Linked DNA regions of Homo sapiens: regions 1 and 2 are each linked to region 3. The links are contacts of gene promoters, found by promoter capture Hi-C in blood cells and fetal thymus (Javierre and others, 2016). All regions are on one chromosome and are shown on one strand. The core of a region is centred on a gene start or on the middle of the fragment in contact, and the rest is flanking DNA. Distances in the headings are between cores, read along the strand shown. Region 1 overlaps SPTBN1 (spectrin beta, non-erythrocytic 1). Region 2 holds the start of SPTBN1-AS1 (SPTBN1 antisense RNA 1). Region 3 holds the start of EML6 (EMAP like 6).

Evidence for each region. Contacts are between HindIII fragments. The CHiCAGO score rates a contact against its expected background, and 5 or more counts as called.
Region 1: a fragment that was not itself captured here is called in contact with the fragment with the promoter of EML6 in region 3 in 1 of 17 cell types (monocytes); the score reaches 5.4 in monocytes.
Region 2: a contact is called between a fragment that was not itself captured here and the fragment with the promoter of EML6 in region 3, in 1 of 17 cell types (fetal thymus). The highest score is 5.3, in fetal thymus.

Annotation. Positions count from the first base shown.
Region 1 is chr2:54,524,094-54,528,270 of GRCh38, forward strand. SPTBN1 (spectrin beta, non-erythrocytic 1) reads left to right here. Exons shown (of 36, transcript NM_003128.3): 2 at 2,279-2,473. The coding sequence starts at 2,326. The region is part of intron 3 of SPTBN1-AS1 (SPTBN1 antisense RNA 1); the gene reads right to left. Among named protein-coding and RNA genes, the nearest start is that of SPTBN1-AS1, 33 kb to the right of the region's middle. RefSeq lists an enhancer at 627-796. The HindIII fragment of the contact is 479 bases long and covers 1,066-1,544 here.
Region 2 is chr2:54,554,240-54,558,706 of GRCh38, forward strand. The region is part of intron 2 of SPTBN1 (spectrin beta, non-erythrocytic 1); the gene reads left to right. SPTBN1-AS1 (SPTBN1 antisense RNA 1) reads right to left here and starts at 4,466. Exons shown (of 4, transcript NR_185881.1): 1 at 3,429-4,466. RefSeq lists a silencer at 3,864-4,003. The HindIII fragment of the contact is 5,081 bases long and covers 1-4,467 here.
Region 3 is chr2:54,720,508-54,725,020 of GRCh38, forward strand. EML6 (EMAP like 6) reads left to right here and starts at 3,155. Exons shown (of 42, transcript NM_001039753.4): 1 at 3,155-3,270; 2 at 4,042-4,513. RefSeq lists an enhancer at 2,688-2,907 and silencers at 3,048-3,537, 4,209-4,358. The HindIII fragment of the contact is 5,681 bases long and covers 2,618-4,513 here.

The DNA.
Region 1 (4,177 bases), core at 55-2,554, 200 kb before region 3:
GAGGCTGAGGCAGAAGAATTGCTTGAACCCAGGAGGCGGAGGCTGCAGTGAGCCGAGATGGTGCCACTGCACTCCAGCCTGGGTGACAGAGCGAAACTCCATCTCAAAAAAAAAAATGTTGATAATTTATTTTTTTTCTTGGGATAGCTTCATACCACTTTAAAAGGGGTGTTGTCTTTTCACTCCTTTCTTCCTACATTTGCAGATTAACAACTTACTTAGATAGCTTCATATGCCTGACTGAGCCTGTTTCCCCCCAGTGAAATTTAAAATATGCGGGAATTTAACCACATTTAACCACACCCATAGGCATCAGGCATAGCACTAGCTCAGTTTCTCAATGTCTCGGGTCTAGTCAGTCCTTCACCAGGCCCTGTCAGTTCTCCCTCCAAAGCACATCCACCTCTAAGCACATCCACCTCTTAACCATCCCCGCTTCTCCACCCAGAGCTGCACCGCCATCATTTCTGGAGTAGCCTCCCAAGTGGCCCCTGCTTCCATTATTGCCGCCTAGAATCTGTTTTCCACACAGCCCTGGGAAGAATATTTTACAAATACACTCAAGGGTGGTGTCGGTTATTAGCTTAAAATCCTGCAGTTGCTTCCCGCCACACTTGGGCTCGCCCACCTCCCTCCCTAACCTTGTCTCCGAGTCTCTCCCGCTGCCCACTAGACTCAGCCACATTGAACTTGCCGTTCCTCCTGCATGCTATGCTGCTTCCTTTGCCTGAAACACTATTATTCTTGATCTGTGCGTGACTCATTCCTCTTGACATTGAGTTCTCAGTTTCAGGACCCACTCGAGAGGCCTTCCCTGATCACCAGATCTAAAAATAGTCACATGACTCTGCTGTCATTTTTTTTTATTTAAACTATCTTGCCTTTTCTTGTGTGCTTTTTGTCCAGCTCCTACCACTAGGATATAAGCTTCCCTAGAGCCAGGTCCTTATTGCGTTCATTTTTATCCCTAGCATCTGGTCCAGCACAGAGTACGTAGTAAGTCTTCATTGTATTTTGGTTCAATGAGTGAATAATAGCTATATTGAAGGGAGAAGCTGTGTTTAAAGCTTATCAGTTCAGGATAAAGAATAGCAAGCGTGTATTGAGCATCTACCATGCACTGGTACTGTCCTTGGTTGCCATACACTTACATCTTAATTTTTTTTTTTTATTGGAGTTTTGCTCCTGTTGCCCAGGTTAGAGTGCAATGGTATGATGTCGGCTCAACCAAAACCTCCGGCTCCTCGGTTCAAGCAATTTTCCAGCCTTGGCCTCCCAAGTAGCTGGGATTATAGGCATGCGCCACCACGCCCAGCTAATTTTTTATTTTTAGTAGTGATGGGTTGGTCAGGCTGAACTGGAACTCCCGACCTCAGGTGATCCGCCCGCCTCAGCCTCCCAAAGTGCTGGGATTAGAGGCGTGAGTCACTGTGCCTGGCCTTACATCTTAATCTTAAGCATCAGTTTTCTAATATGTAAGTGAGATGTTTAGATAAAATGATCTGCTAGTTCTCTTATATAACATTTTATGAATTTCCAGGAGAAGCTTAAAGATTATAATTTATGGTGATACACAATGGGAATAAATGAGTTCATTCAGAAGCCCCACGTAGGTGTTGATCTACCTCCGATAACATTTCTTTTTTTTTCTTTTTGAGACGGAGTCTCGCTCTGTTGCCCAGGCAAGAGTGCAATGGCACGATATCGGCTCACTACAACCTCCGCCTCCCAGATTCGAGCAATTCTCCCTGCCTCAGCCACCCAAGTAGCTGGGATTACAGGCATGTGCCACCACGCCCAGCTAATTTTTGTATCTTTGGTAGAGACGGGTTTTCACCATGTTGGCCAGGCTGGCCTCGAACTCCTGACCTCAGGTGATCTGCCCACCTCGGCCTCCTAAAGTGCTGGAATTACAGGCGTGAGCCACTGCACCTGGCCCTCTGATAACATTTTTAAATTGCAGAGTTTAAACTTTAGAAAGAAGGAATAAACCCACCATTTTGGGGGTATCCATCATCTCATTCAGTCCTGTCAACAACCTCTGAAGTATCTTCCCTCTTTAATGGTTGGGGAAACTGAGGCTTAGAGATACTAAGTAACTTGGCTAAGGTCACACATCTATTATGAGACAGTGCTAAAACCTAAAACCAGCATTGCTCCAGAAGACCTATTCTTGGCAAGCACTGTTTTTATTTTCTGCTCACTCTTATCCCAGTTGGTTCCGTGGGGACTGTATACACTTCAGACGTCTAAATGTTTTTCCTTTTCTTTCTCATAGAACTCTAAGAAGGAGCTGATGTGGAGGAGCAGCTGAGACAGTTCAAGATGACGACCACAGTAGCCACAGACTATGACAACATTGAGATCCAGCAGCAGTACAGTGATGTCAACAACCGCTGGGATGTCGACGACTGGGACAATGAGAACAGCTCTGCGCGGCTTTTTGAGCGGTCCCGCATCAAGGCTCTGGCAGGTGAGTCCTTCACACCTGTCACAGAGGCCCAGGATGCCTAAAATCAGGATGCCCCTTAAAATCATCCACCCTGTTCCCATGACGCTGTCATGTTCGAAGGTTGTCTCACTTCTATTTAAATGTGTCCTTGAGAGCCAGCTGACCATTTTATAAGGTAGTCAGTTCCATATTTGGAGAGCTGTCAACTCTAATGGCCAAAATTATTCAGAGCACAGAGTGTTATTTATAGCAATTCAAGAACAGCTGCCCTAAGTTTGTAAGAATTCTTTTATTTTTGACAAATCTTACATTCCAAAATATCAAAGCATACTATTCCTTATACTCAAAAATATACAAATTAACCTGTGTACTTAGTGCCTGTGATACATTAACTGGCCTGACCTGTACCAAGATGGGTTAGTATTACACGCAAGGATTTTACATCTGAAAAGCAAAAGCTGAATCTGGTAAAGGCACATTTAATACAGTAACGAGTAAGTTTGCCATTGGTCCATTAGTTCGTGGAACATGTCCTTACTTTGTGATTTCTCATTCCCTTGTTGCTGGTGAACACCTAGAGCACACTTTCTCCATGGCCCCAGTGAGGGTGAGGAGTGTTTTACCCTAAAATTGCCCTGAAAATCAGGAAAGCGTTCTGTGGCTCTGAAAACTCAGCTGTACTGAATATATGTAAACCAAGTATCAAAACCGAGTTTTTTCAAGGTCCTGCATCTGTACTTTGAGATTTCAAATGAAATTTCAGATGAAGTTTATTCCAAATGATTTTTTTCTAATGTCTTTAATTGTGACAAGTAAATCAAAGTCATGACTTGAGAAGTTAAGTTTACTGTTAATTCTAACTACATAACTCACATTTTTGTTGCCTTTATAGTGGAATCTGATTATGAAGCATGCATCATTTAGAGTCATCTTGATTGTGGACAAAGGAAACCTAACCCAGAGTGGTTTAAGTGACAAAGAGGATTTATTGGTCACACAGTAGGCAAATTCAGTCTTTAAGCAAGACTTACTCCTGGACTTAAATGGTGTGACCAGGATCTAGTTTCTTTCTCTCTACTCTGGCTTTATTTTCTAGTGCAGGCTCTGTTCACAAGCAGGCTCCATCCTGTAGTCCCAAGATGGCTGCCCCAGGTCCCTGGCCCCCTTGGACTATGGACATCCAGCAGAAAAGAGGATGCTTTTCTGCTTACCATGGCCCGGATATATCAGTCTCACTGGCGTGATTGATCATGACTTGGATCATGTGCTTCTCCCGCTGGTGTTGGAGAATCTCATGTGCTGTTAACTTCTAAACAGGATGCACCCCTTAGAGTGAAAGTTTGGTCAGTCTCAACCAAACAAGTTGGCTAGAAAGATTGGAATATAACAGAAAAGAGGAAGAGGAGAATGGATGTTGGGGGTACAGCTAACAATGTACTACAGAAAAACTATTCAGCTGCTTTAGGATAATTTGTCTCTTGAGTGGTGTTGATTTAAAGATCTTTCTTGAGCTGGCCTGAATGAATGATTAATCAGTCACTCTAGAATTGGGGCTTCATTATCATTCATTAACATGGAACTCTATGGAGATCATGACCCTGGCTTGTGCTAGTAAAGTGATTTGTATTTTAATCTCTCACCTCTTTTTCTTGTATTTTCATTTGAGTCTTTAGGCCAGTATGCTAGTGATGGCCAGTTACCTTTGATCTTGAGTCTTACTTTCTG
Region 2 (4,467 bases), core at 1,232-3,731, 170 kb before region 3:
TGGGGAGATGGGGAGCACGCTGACTTGGTGGATCTGGGGTCCATGTGTTGGTTGTGCCACTCACCAGCTGGGGCCCTGGGCAAGGCACTGTATTTCTGTGAACCTCAGCTACCTTGGTTGCAAAATGGTGACCATACCTGCCTCACAGGGTTAGTCACTTGAGAAAATATATGTGGAAGCATTCTGTAAGCTACCAAGTGTGATGGTTCTGGTTATTACGGCCATTCAGTTTAAGTGGAGATTGATGATAACTGGGACTGCAGTTAGAAGTGGGACCTAAGCAGGGTGAACCCAAATCACTAATACATTTAATACTAAACATTCCAGAAGGAATTTTTTATGACCATAGATTCCAAACTGTTTGGTTTATAGACGAAGATTGAGAGGCCCAGAGAACATCAGAAACATGCTCAAGATTACATAGCTCCTTGGTACTCAGAAATTAGGGTAAGCCTGAGTCCCTGACTCTGGACTTGAGTCTTTCCACCAGCCCACAGCACTTTTGATCTGTTCCATCCATATCTTTGAGCCATCTTCCCACTGGCCTTTTCCTACCTATGCCAACTTAGGGCTGAAACCTGTGCACAGAGGACATACTCAGTTGGGCCCTGCCTTGGAACATCTTCCCCTGAGTCTGATAACCCTCATTCACTAGTCTCATCTTCATAGCTTCTTCTTCGTCCTCCTCCTCCTCCTTTCTCGTTATTTTCTAACTCCCTGTAACCCAGCTTTTGCTTTTATTAACCCAGTTGACCTGCTAATTGGCACACCACATGCCTTTTCTCTAAGTTTTATTTTTTAGTTTGTTTGTTTTGCAACACTTAAGACCATCTACCCTCTTTCCTCTTTGAGTCTCTCTCCTTAGATTTTCATTCTGCAACTCCCTGGCATCTCCACTGGTTTTTCTTCTTTCTCCCAAACCCAGGCCTTCCCCAGGGCTCCATGCTTAGCCCCTTGCCTCTTACTTCCTTTCCTAGATTTAACCCCACAACTATCTCAACTCCCACCTCTGCACTCAGGACTGTATCTTCAGTTTTGAGCTCTAGTTCCACATCCCTGACTGCTCCAGACATGTCACCCAGTGGTATTGCAGGTAACTCAGATTCCACCTGTCTAGAAGGAAATGTGCACTTGTCCCCTGCACCCCTCTAGCCAGATGTAAAACCCTGAGAGTCTTCTTTGTCCCTTTCCTTTGATCCTCCCACATACAGTTAGTTACCAAAGTCCTTTGGATTAATTTTTACGTCAGCCCATTCTTTTTCATTTGATTGCTCCTTTGACCTGGACTGTTGCACTAACCACCCAGTTGACCTTGCTGCCTTCATTTCCTCTCCTTTCTGCCCATTCTTACATACCACTTCCAGATTAATCATCTCTAGAGTCCAGCCCACACCCTCTACTCCCCTGGCTCAAAAGTCTCCAGTGGCTCCAGACCAGGCTTAGTTCTAACTTGCTTTTCGGGGCTTTCCTCCCAGCCTGACGGTTCCTTATCCTCCAGCCAAACTGCAGCACTTGCTGGTGCTGTTTCCTGGGCATCCATGCTTTTACTGTGCTGCTTGAGAGGAGGCTTCTCCCTTGTTCCAGCCTGTTGATGTCTACCTGTGTTTCAAGGTTTGATCAAAATGCCAGTCCCTCCTAGAGTTCTTCCCACCTACCTTTCTCCAAAAGGCAGATGTGTCCTCCTTGTCCTCTGAATTCTTAGAGCTGTCCTCCCCTGGCCCTTACTATATTCTTTTGGTACTTTACTGTTTGCACATTTGTCCCATTTCCTTTGGCTAGCAACACTCCTGGTCACTTCTGAATCTTCTAAAACACCTGGCAGTGTGCCTTGCACACATTAAATACTGTAAATACAGAACAGTAAACACTGAAGAAATAAAGAATGAATACCTCTGGCCTTCCTTTACCTCCTCCCCACTTCTGAACTGGAGGTGGTCAGATGGGCCATCAGGGATCTGTCTTATTCTTCCCTGGTCCCATCACACCAAATGGATTCCCATTTCTTACTTCTTATCCCCGTGGGGTTATTAAACCCTTCCCCAGTGTCCAAACCTTTCTAATACTTGCATGTGTTCACTCTGCCTGGTTCATTCAGTGTTGGCTTCACAGGATTGAGTGTGGCTACGTTCGTCCCAGCTCTACTGCCATCATATTATGTGCAACCTGGTTAATTAAAAATTATTTCATGTACTAACCCATACTAGAGGGAGCTGAAAGGGAGATACTGAGTGGTGACTCCCTTTCTTCATTAAGTGGCCCAATGATTAAAACGTTATAAGTTGGCAAAGCACTTTGTAATCTCATTTTCAGTGCCATAGCTGGACACTTAGAGACTTATCATTTCACCAGTATACTTAGTTGTGAAAAAGGGCTTGTTAAAAAGATCTTCATTGAGACGGTTCCCAATTCAACTTCTCTTGTAGTCTTGATGTGGTGTGTGTGTGTGTGTTTGTGTGTGTGGGCGGGGGGTGATGAAAGGAGGGGTGCATTTTGAAGAATATACTCTTAATTTTGAAAGTATGATAATTTTTAGAACATTTCCACATCATCTCCTCAGTGACCCTGTGGAGGTGGGCATTAATTATTACTCAGTCTGACAGCTGAGGTTTAGAAAGAATCCAGGGTTTCTTCTAAGGTCATAGGGTAATTAAGAGGCTTGGCCAGGACTAGCAACTCAGGTCTTGGGAATCCTAGTCAAGTGCTTTTTCCAAGACCAAGTGTTTTGTAATGCTCTGCCTAGCCTCCCATCAGCATTGTGAATTGGCAGCACTTAGGGGCTTTAAAAAATGTTCTACATCTTAGATGATAAGAAATGTTGTCTTCTTCAGGTTGGGCCTGGCTTTCAAAAGCCAAAGGTTGACATGTGGAAGTATTAAAAACCTAGTTATGTGGCTGGAAGGAGTTGGGGGTTGTTCAGCGTTGAGCAGTTAGCTAGGCTCTGGGTTTAATTCTAAGCCTGGACAGGATGCAGTTACTTCAATTACAAGTGCCCTGGGGACTGAGGTGAACCTGGGGTGGGGGACCACGTCTTTACTACATATTGGGATCCCTGAGGAATGAAATTACCTTCTTCAGTGAGTATTGCTGTAGGGCTCCAAACTGGAAATGCCAAAAGTGTAATTTGTTGTCTGCCTGTTTAGGTAGTGAGGAAAAAGGGGGGACAGGAGGGTGGAGAGAGAGGGGGGAGATCTAGAGTCAATTTCCCAAGAATACATTTTGATCATTCTCTTTTCTATGTGGAAGATTTCATTTTTGGTTGAGATTGGTGGGAGAAGAAGCTGGGAAGGAGAGATTTAAAATTTTGGAGAACCACAAGTTTAGAGGCCTTGTTTTACAAATCAGAGTAGGAATTTGAGGGTAGTTTCGGTTCCCTCATCTCCCCTCCGGATCATAAACAACTCCAGGTCAGGGATCTCGGCGGTGTTTACCTGTGTACCTTTTTCCCACAATGCCTTGCAAATCGGTGCTCCCATAAATCTTCCTTGCGTCGAATTCCTATCATAGGCCCGTGTTATTCCAGGAAACCACCGCCTTCATATCCCCTGATGGCAGCGTAAGTCAGCCGAGATTCTTCACTGAGCCCGAACTTACACCTCCCCTGGCTGTGGCGCTGCACAGCGCCCTGAGAGTGACTTTGTCTGACTTCTTCCCGGTGGCTCGCCGGGCCGCCGCCGCGTGGTTGGCGCCAGCGCACTGGGGCAGTCGCGCGCGCCCAGGTGCGGGCCGCGTTACCTCAGCAGACGCTAGAGAGTGAATGAGCCGCGCGGGCCCGGGACCCTTGGGGCTCTTCACTCTCCAGGCCGTCCCGTGGGCGCGCTAGCCTTTTCAAGTGATAGTAATCGGAGACTTTTCCGTTACATGAGGCTCAACAAAAGATTGTAATTCCAGCAGCTCTGTTTGGGAAGGCACTACCGCGGCGAGTCCAGGGCCCGGCCGGGGGTCGGCGGCTGCCGGGCGGCTGGGGCGACCGCGGACCGTGCGGGACCGGTAGGGGGTCGCGGGCCGGCTAGGCTCCCCCGCGCCCCTCCTCGTGGTATAGCCTGCATTTCTAATACAATGCTGTTATGCTAATCAGGTGACATCACCGCCCAGCACACGGCGAGTGGCTCCTGATAAAATTACAAACCGGCGGCCGCCGCGGGCAGCTGGGAGGAGGTGTGCGCGCTGCGCCCGCGAGCTCCCGGGCTCGGCAACCGTGGCATGCTTAGGATTGGCCATATTTAAAAGTTCTGAAGTAGAACCTGCGCCTCCTCTCTGCTTCTCCCTCCTCCTCAGTAATTTATTTCGAGCTTCCAGGCAAGGGCCACGGAAGAAGGGAAAGCAAGAAATTAGATGCCTGTGTGGTAACTCCTCGCGGAGCTAAGGTGGACTCTCTTGCAGCCAACTTCCCATCAGATCACCCTGCTGGACTTGCAGACCGGAATGGGGCTCGCCTAAGGAGCCGAGCGCTGCGGAGGCTGCTGCGTG
Region 3 (4,513 bases), core at 1,905-4,404:
AAGGAGTGTCACCAAAGCCCAGCCTGGTCTAGTACTCCTGGGCTCAAGCAGTCCTCCCGCCTTGGCCTCCCAAAGTGTTGGGATTACAGGTGTGAGGCACTGTGCCTGGCCTAGGGTAGCTTTTGAGCATCTTCCTTTTAAAGGCAGCCAGGATGTGCCCCATGACCCTTCTCTTCTTTGAAATGTACTTGAAATGTACGTTTGATGGCTAGTACTACATCTTGGACCATGAGGTCTAGGGACAGCAGAGCAGAATGCTGGCATGCTGCCAGTAGCCTGAGTACTCAAGGATTCCTTTAAGCAGAGCCATCATTCTAGGCCTGTACTACCTCCAGGTTTTTGTGAGAAATAAAATTCTATCAAGTTTAAATCATGGCTATTTTGGGTTTCATTTACAGGTGAACTTACTCTACCATCTAAACAATTTCTTTCATCATTCTTAGCATTTAAGAGCAGCGTCTGGAGTCAGACTGCCTGAGTTCAAATCCAGGCTTTGTCACTATTTTGTGCATTCCTGGGCAAGTTACTTAAACTTTCCTTACCTTCATTTCTTCATCTGTAAAATGAGGAAATAACAGTAACTACTTCATAGGATTATTACTGGGGTGAAGATCAAATTATCTGATACACGTAAAGCACCATTTATAGTGCCTGGAACATAGTAACTGCTATTCATTACAACAACATAATGTTATTATATTATGAGTTTTACTCATGCTTTTTAATACTGCTTATTTCCAAAGGACACTACCAGTCTTATTTGACACTTTCAAGTAGAGGTTACTATCTACTGCCATATAGTAATAATTAACATTTATCTAATGCTTTACAAATTAACTTTTCACGTATGTATTACTTTGTTTCATTCTTACAATTATCCTGTGGGGTGAGTACTGCTATACTTTATTAAATGAGGAGAGTAAAGATCAGAGGATTTAGTGATTTGCCTAAGGTTACAATTGTAAGTGGCTGACTCAGACTTACTCCTCCAACTCATTTAACAGTCTGGTACAGCATGGGGGTCATTAGTTATACTAAAGATAATTTAGGAAATGAATATGTTCCATCCATTTCTATTTAAGAGACTTCTTTTCAATACATTTGTACATTTTCTCTGGAAAGTGTCTCTTCCTTTCTAGACCACTGCCACTATCTCTAACGCAGCCTCAAGCACTACCCCAGACTTCTAATACCTCATGCTTTGATTACTGCTTTCATTGCTATTCCCTTATTTTTATTCAAAAAATCAATGACTCCATTATTTTAAGGATACAGCGCAAACCCCTATGCTGAGCTCCATCTACAATCTAACCTTTCATGTGTCCTCTTGATCTTATATGAATTCTCCCTTGCACCAAACTGGGTATTCTCTTTAGTGTTCTCTAAATCCACTTTTCTGCATCTACACTTTTGTTTATTCCCTAAACGCATGTAGAACGCTCTTTCAATTTATCTTTACTTATCTCAATTCTATCTATATTTCCTAGTTCCTCCATGAAACTTTTCCTGATGTATTTTATCTGGAAAAACTCTTCCTCTTCTGAATTCTTATATAGAACTTACTGGCCAGGCACAGTGGCTCATGCCTGTAATCCCAGCAATTTGGGAAGCCGAGGCGGGCAGAACACCTGAGGTCGGGAGTTGGAGACCAGCCTGGCCAACAGGGCGAAACCCTGTCTCTACTAAAAATACAAAAATTAGCTGGGCGTGGTGGTGCGTATCTGTAATCCCAGCTACACAGGAGGCTGAGGCAGGATAATCGTTTGAACCCAGGAGGCGGAGGTTGCAGTGAGCCAAGATCACGATATTCTAGCCTGGGCAACGGCCTGTTTTGTCTCAAAACAAAACAAAACAAAAAGAACAACAAAAACTTACTGTCTTTATATAATTCATTTGGCACTGTTTTATGGCACGACATCATTGATCAACTATATTTTTGCTTCTATCTCAAACCTTTCTCAGGCCGTGTTTTTGTTTTTGGCAGTGTTCTTGTTGCCTAGCACAGTGCCATCTCACTTATTTGTTGATTCTGTTTCCTTAAAAACAAAGATGAGACCAATTCAAATCCTCATTACTGCGGGCAGCAACAAATCATCCAAACTCTGGCACTTCCAGTTCTTTCGAGCTTTCCTACCAGGTCGGAGGGTTGTCTTAAAACTTGAGGGAGATGAACTGAGTAAGCGATTACACTGAAAGCATGGGAGGGAAAGGACGTTCCAAACGTCCAATCCATCATCCTTTTGCAGCCTCTTAGTCACTGGGATTTTGAAATCTCTTTCCAAAGACTAGCTATGGCCCTAAATTGGAAATAGGCTACTTGAGAACACAGTGGATTCATAGTTCATCTCGGGCAGTTTTAGGAGAAATGCCACCAGCTTCTGCGTTTGAAGGCCAAGGTTAGCTGTTCATGGCGTGAGCACCTTCCTGCTTCCAACCTCCGGTTATCTGTAAATACCCAAGTCCTCTAATTTAGGACGCAGGTCATGGGAAGACGCTGGTTCTTAGGGCAGAAGTGAGCTCACATTCCCAGCATTTTTCTTAAACTTGGCAGAACTGCACTTTAACAAATTAAAATCCATGTGAATGAAAAGGAAAACTTAAGTAGGAAACAAACTTAAGCTTGAGTCAGTTACAGCATGGTGAGGATGTCGGTTACAGCAACACTCAGAGACCGATGAAGGAGAAATTCCAGTGGTGGGCTGGGAGACCGTCTCCATTCCAACTCCACCGCTTTTCTCTACAGAGACCCACGCACGCCAGCTCCCGCCTCAGTCACAAGGGAACGCCCGCGTGGGCAGGCAATCGTCCTTGGTGAGCCGGGATCTCCTCACCCCGAGAGCCGCAGGCTCCGCTGACGCCGGTACAGGTCTCGCTGCGACTCCCTCTGGGCGCGCGGAATCCTGGGACTTGTGGTCCCTTCCGCGCGCTGTCCGCCCTAACCGGCGCAGAGAGGACTACACTTCCCAGGATGCGTCGGGGGAAGAGGCCACAGGGACAGGCAGAGGGAGGGGGCGGCCCCAGTCCTCCGGGGCGTCGCTGTTTCCAAGCGGCGAGATCTCGCCTAGTAACCGGCAGCTGAGGTTCACTAGCGCGGCGTTGTGGCCCCGCCCCCGGAGCCCCGGCTGGAGGAAGAACCTGTCTCCCGCGGCGCCCCAGTGACGAAGTCCATCCCCGGGTGCGGGAGGCGGGGAGGGGAGGGCAGGCAGAGGATTTCGCTCGCTCGCCCGCGCGGGATCCGGGACGCGCCGGTGGCGTCCGCTGGCAGCAGAGGTTAGAGGCAGAGAGCGCGCGGATGCTCCGCGGGCGAGGCTGGTTCGAGAGTGGGAGGAGTGCAGGGCGCCGCCAGGGCGGCAGTGCGCGCGGGCCGAACAGTCCTGAGGGCGGGCATCCCTCGCGCAGCGCGCCGACCCCCGGGACGTGTGCGTCTGTGGGGGGTTGCTGTCCCCCGGGTCCCTCGGGCGACCCCTCTCCACGCTGGGCTCAGGGCAGGACCCGGGATTCCGTGGGACCCGGTGTTTAGCGCAGAGGTTTCTGGGGAGAAGTACACGATTTTTGCCACTTGTTATTTGATTTCTCCTCGACCAGGAGCGTTTGTAGGTAGCGCACTCCCTCCGACTGCACTAGTGCCTCGTTTCTTCCGAGTAAGACAATCTTTCATGATGCGGATTGGAGTTGCTGATCAATGAGAGCTGCTAAGTTCTTTATGGCTTTCTCGGTGAAGAGAAGGTTCACGGAGGATATGATTATTAAACACACACATGAAAACTAATTGGAGCATCTAAAAAATGACCATTGCATATTCGCCCTCGCTTATTAGGGAAACAGCAAGCGTTCCTTCAAATCGCATCAGCAACTGCCAGGCAGCAGCATTTACGCATATTTCATATCATTAAGGAGATGGAACTGGAGAGAGAAAGCGGGAGTAGGGGACAATTTTTAAAAATACCCAACTTGGTTTAGTTTGGGGATAATTTTCTTGGATTGGGTGACTTATGCGAAAAATCTGTTTCTTTCTTCCTCGCTCTCGCTTCCTGGATATAGACTGTCAATTTCGGATCCAAAGACGGCGATGGCAGAGCTCACCCGGGTTGCCTGTCAAATCAAGGCTATCGCAGAATAAATCCCGCCGCCTGCCGCGAAGCCCCGGCGCACCGCAAACTTCAGTGAGCGAACTGGGTGATCGCTGTTGGGATATGCAGATTCCTGATGTAAAAGGCGGGGTGGCCCCCCCGAGAGCCTCTCCCGGGGGCCGGAGCCCGCAGGTGCAGTGAGGCGCGCGCGCCGGTGCCGGCGCCCCCAGAGCCGCCTTGCCCGGGTAGAGGGAGCCCGGCGCCCGGCGGGGTCTGGCGGCCGCACACCGGCGGCGGCGGCTTGTCTGCGGCGGCTGCAGCGGATGATGGTGGCGGCCGGCCCGCTGGGCTGTGCCTGTGTGTCGCCGCGGAAATCAGCGCCCTGCGCCGCGCGCTGAGCCCCTGCAGGTCCGCCGCAGCCCCAGCCTCGGCGAGGACGGCCC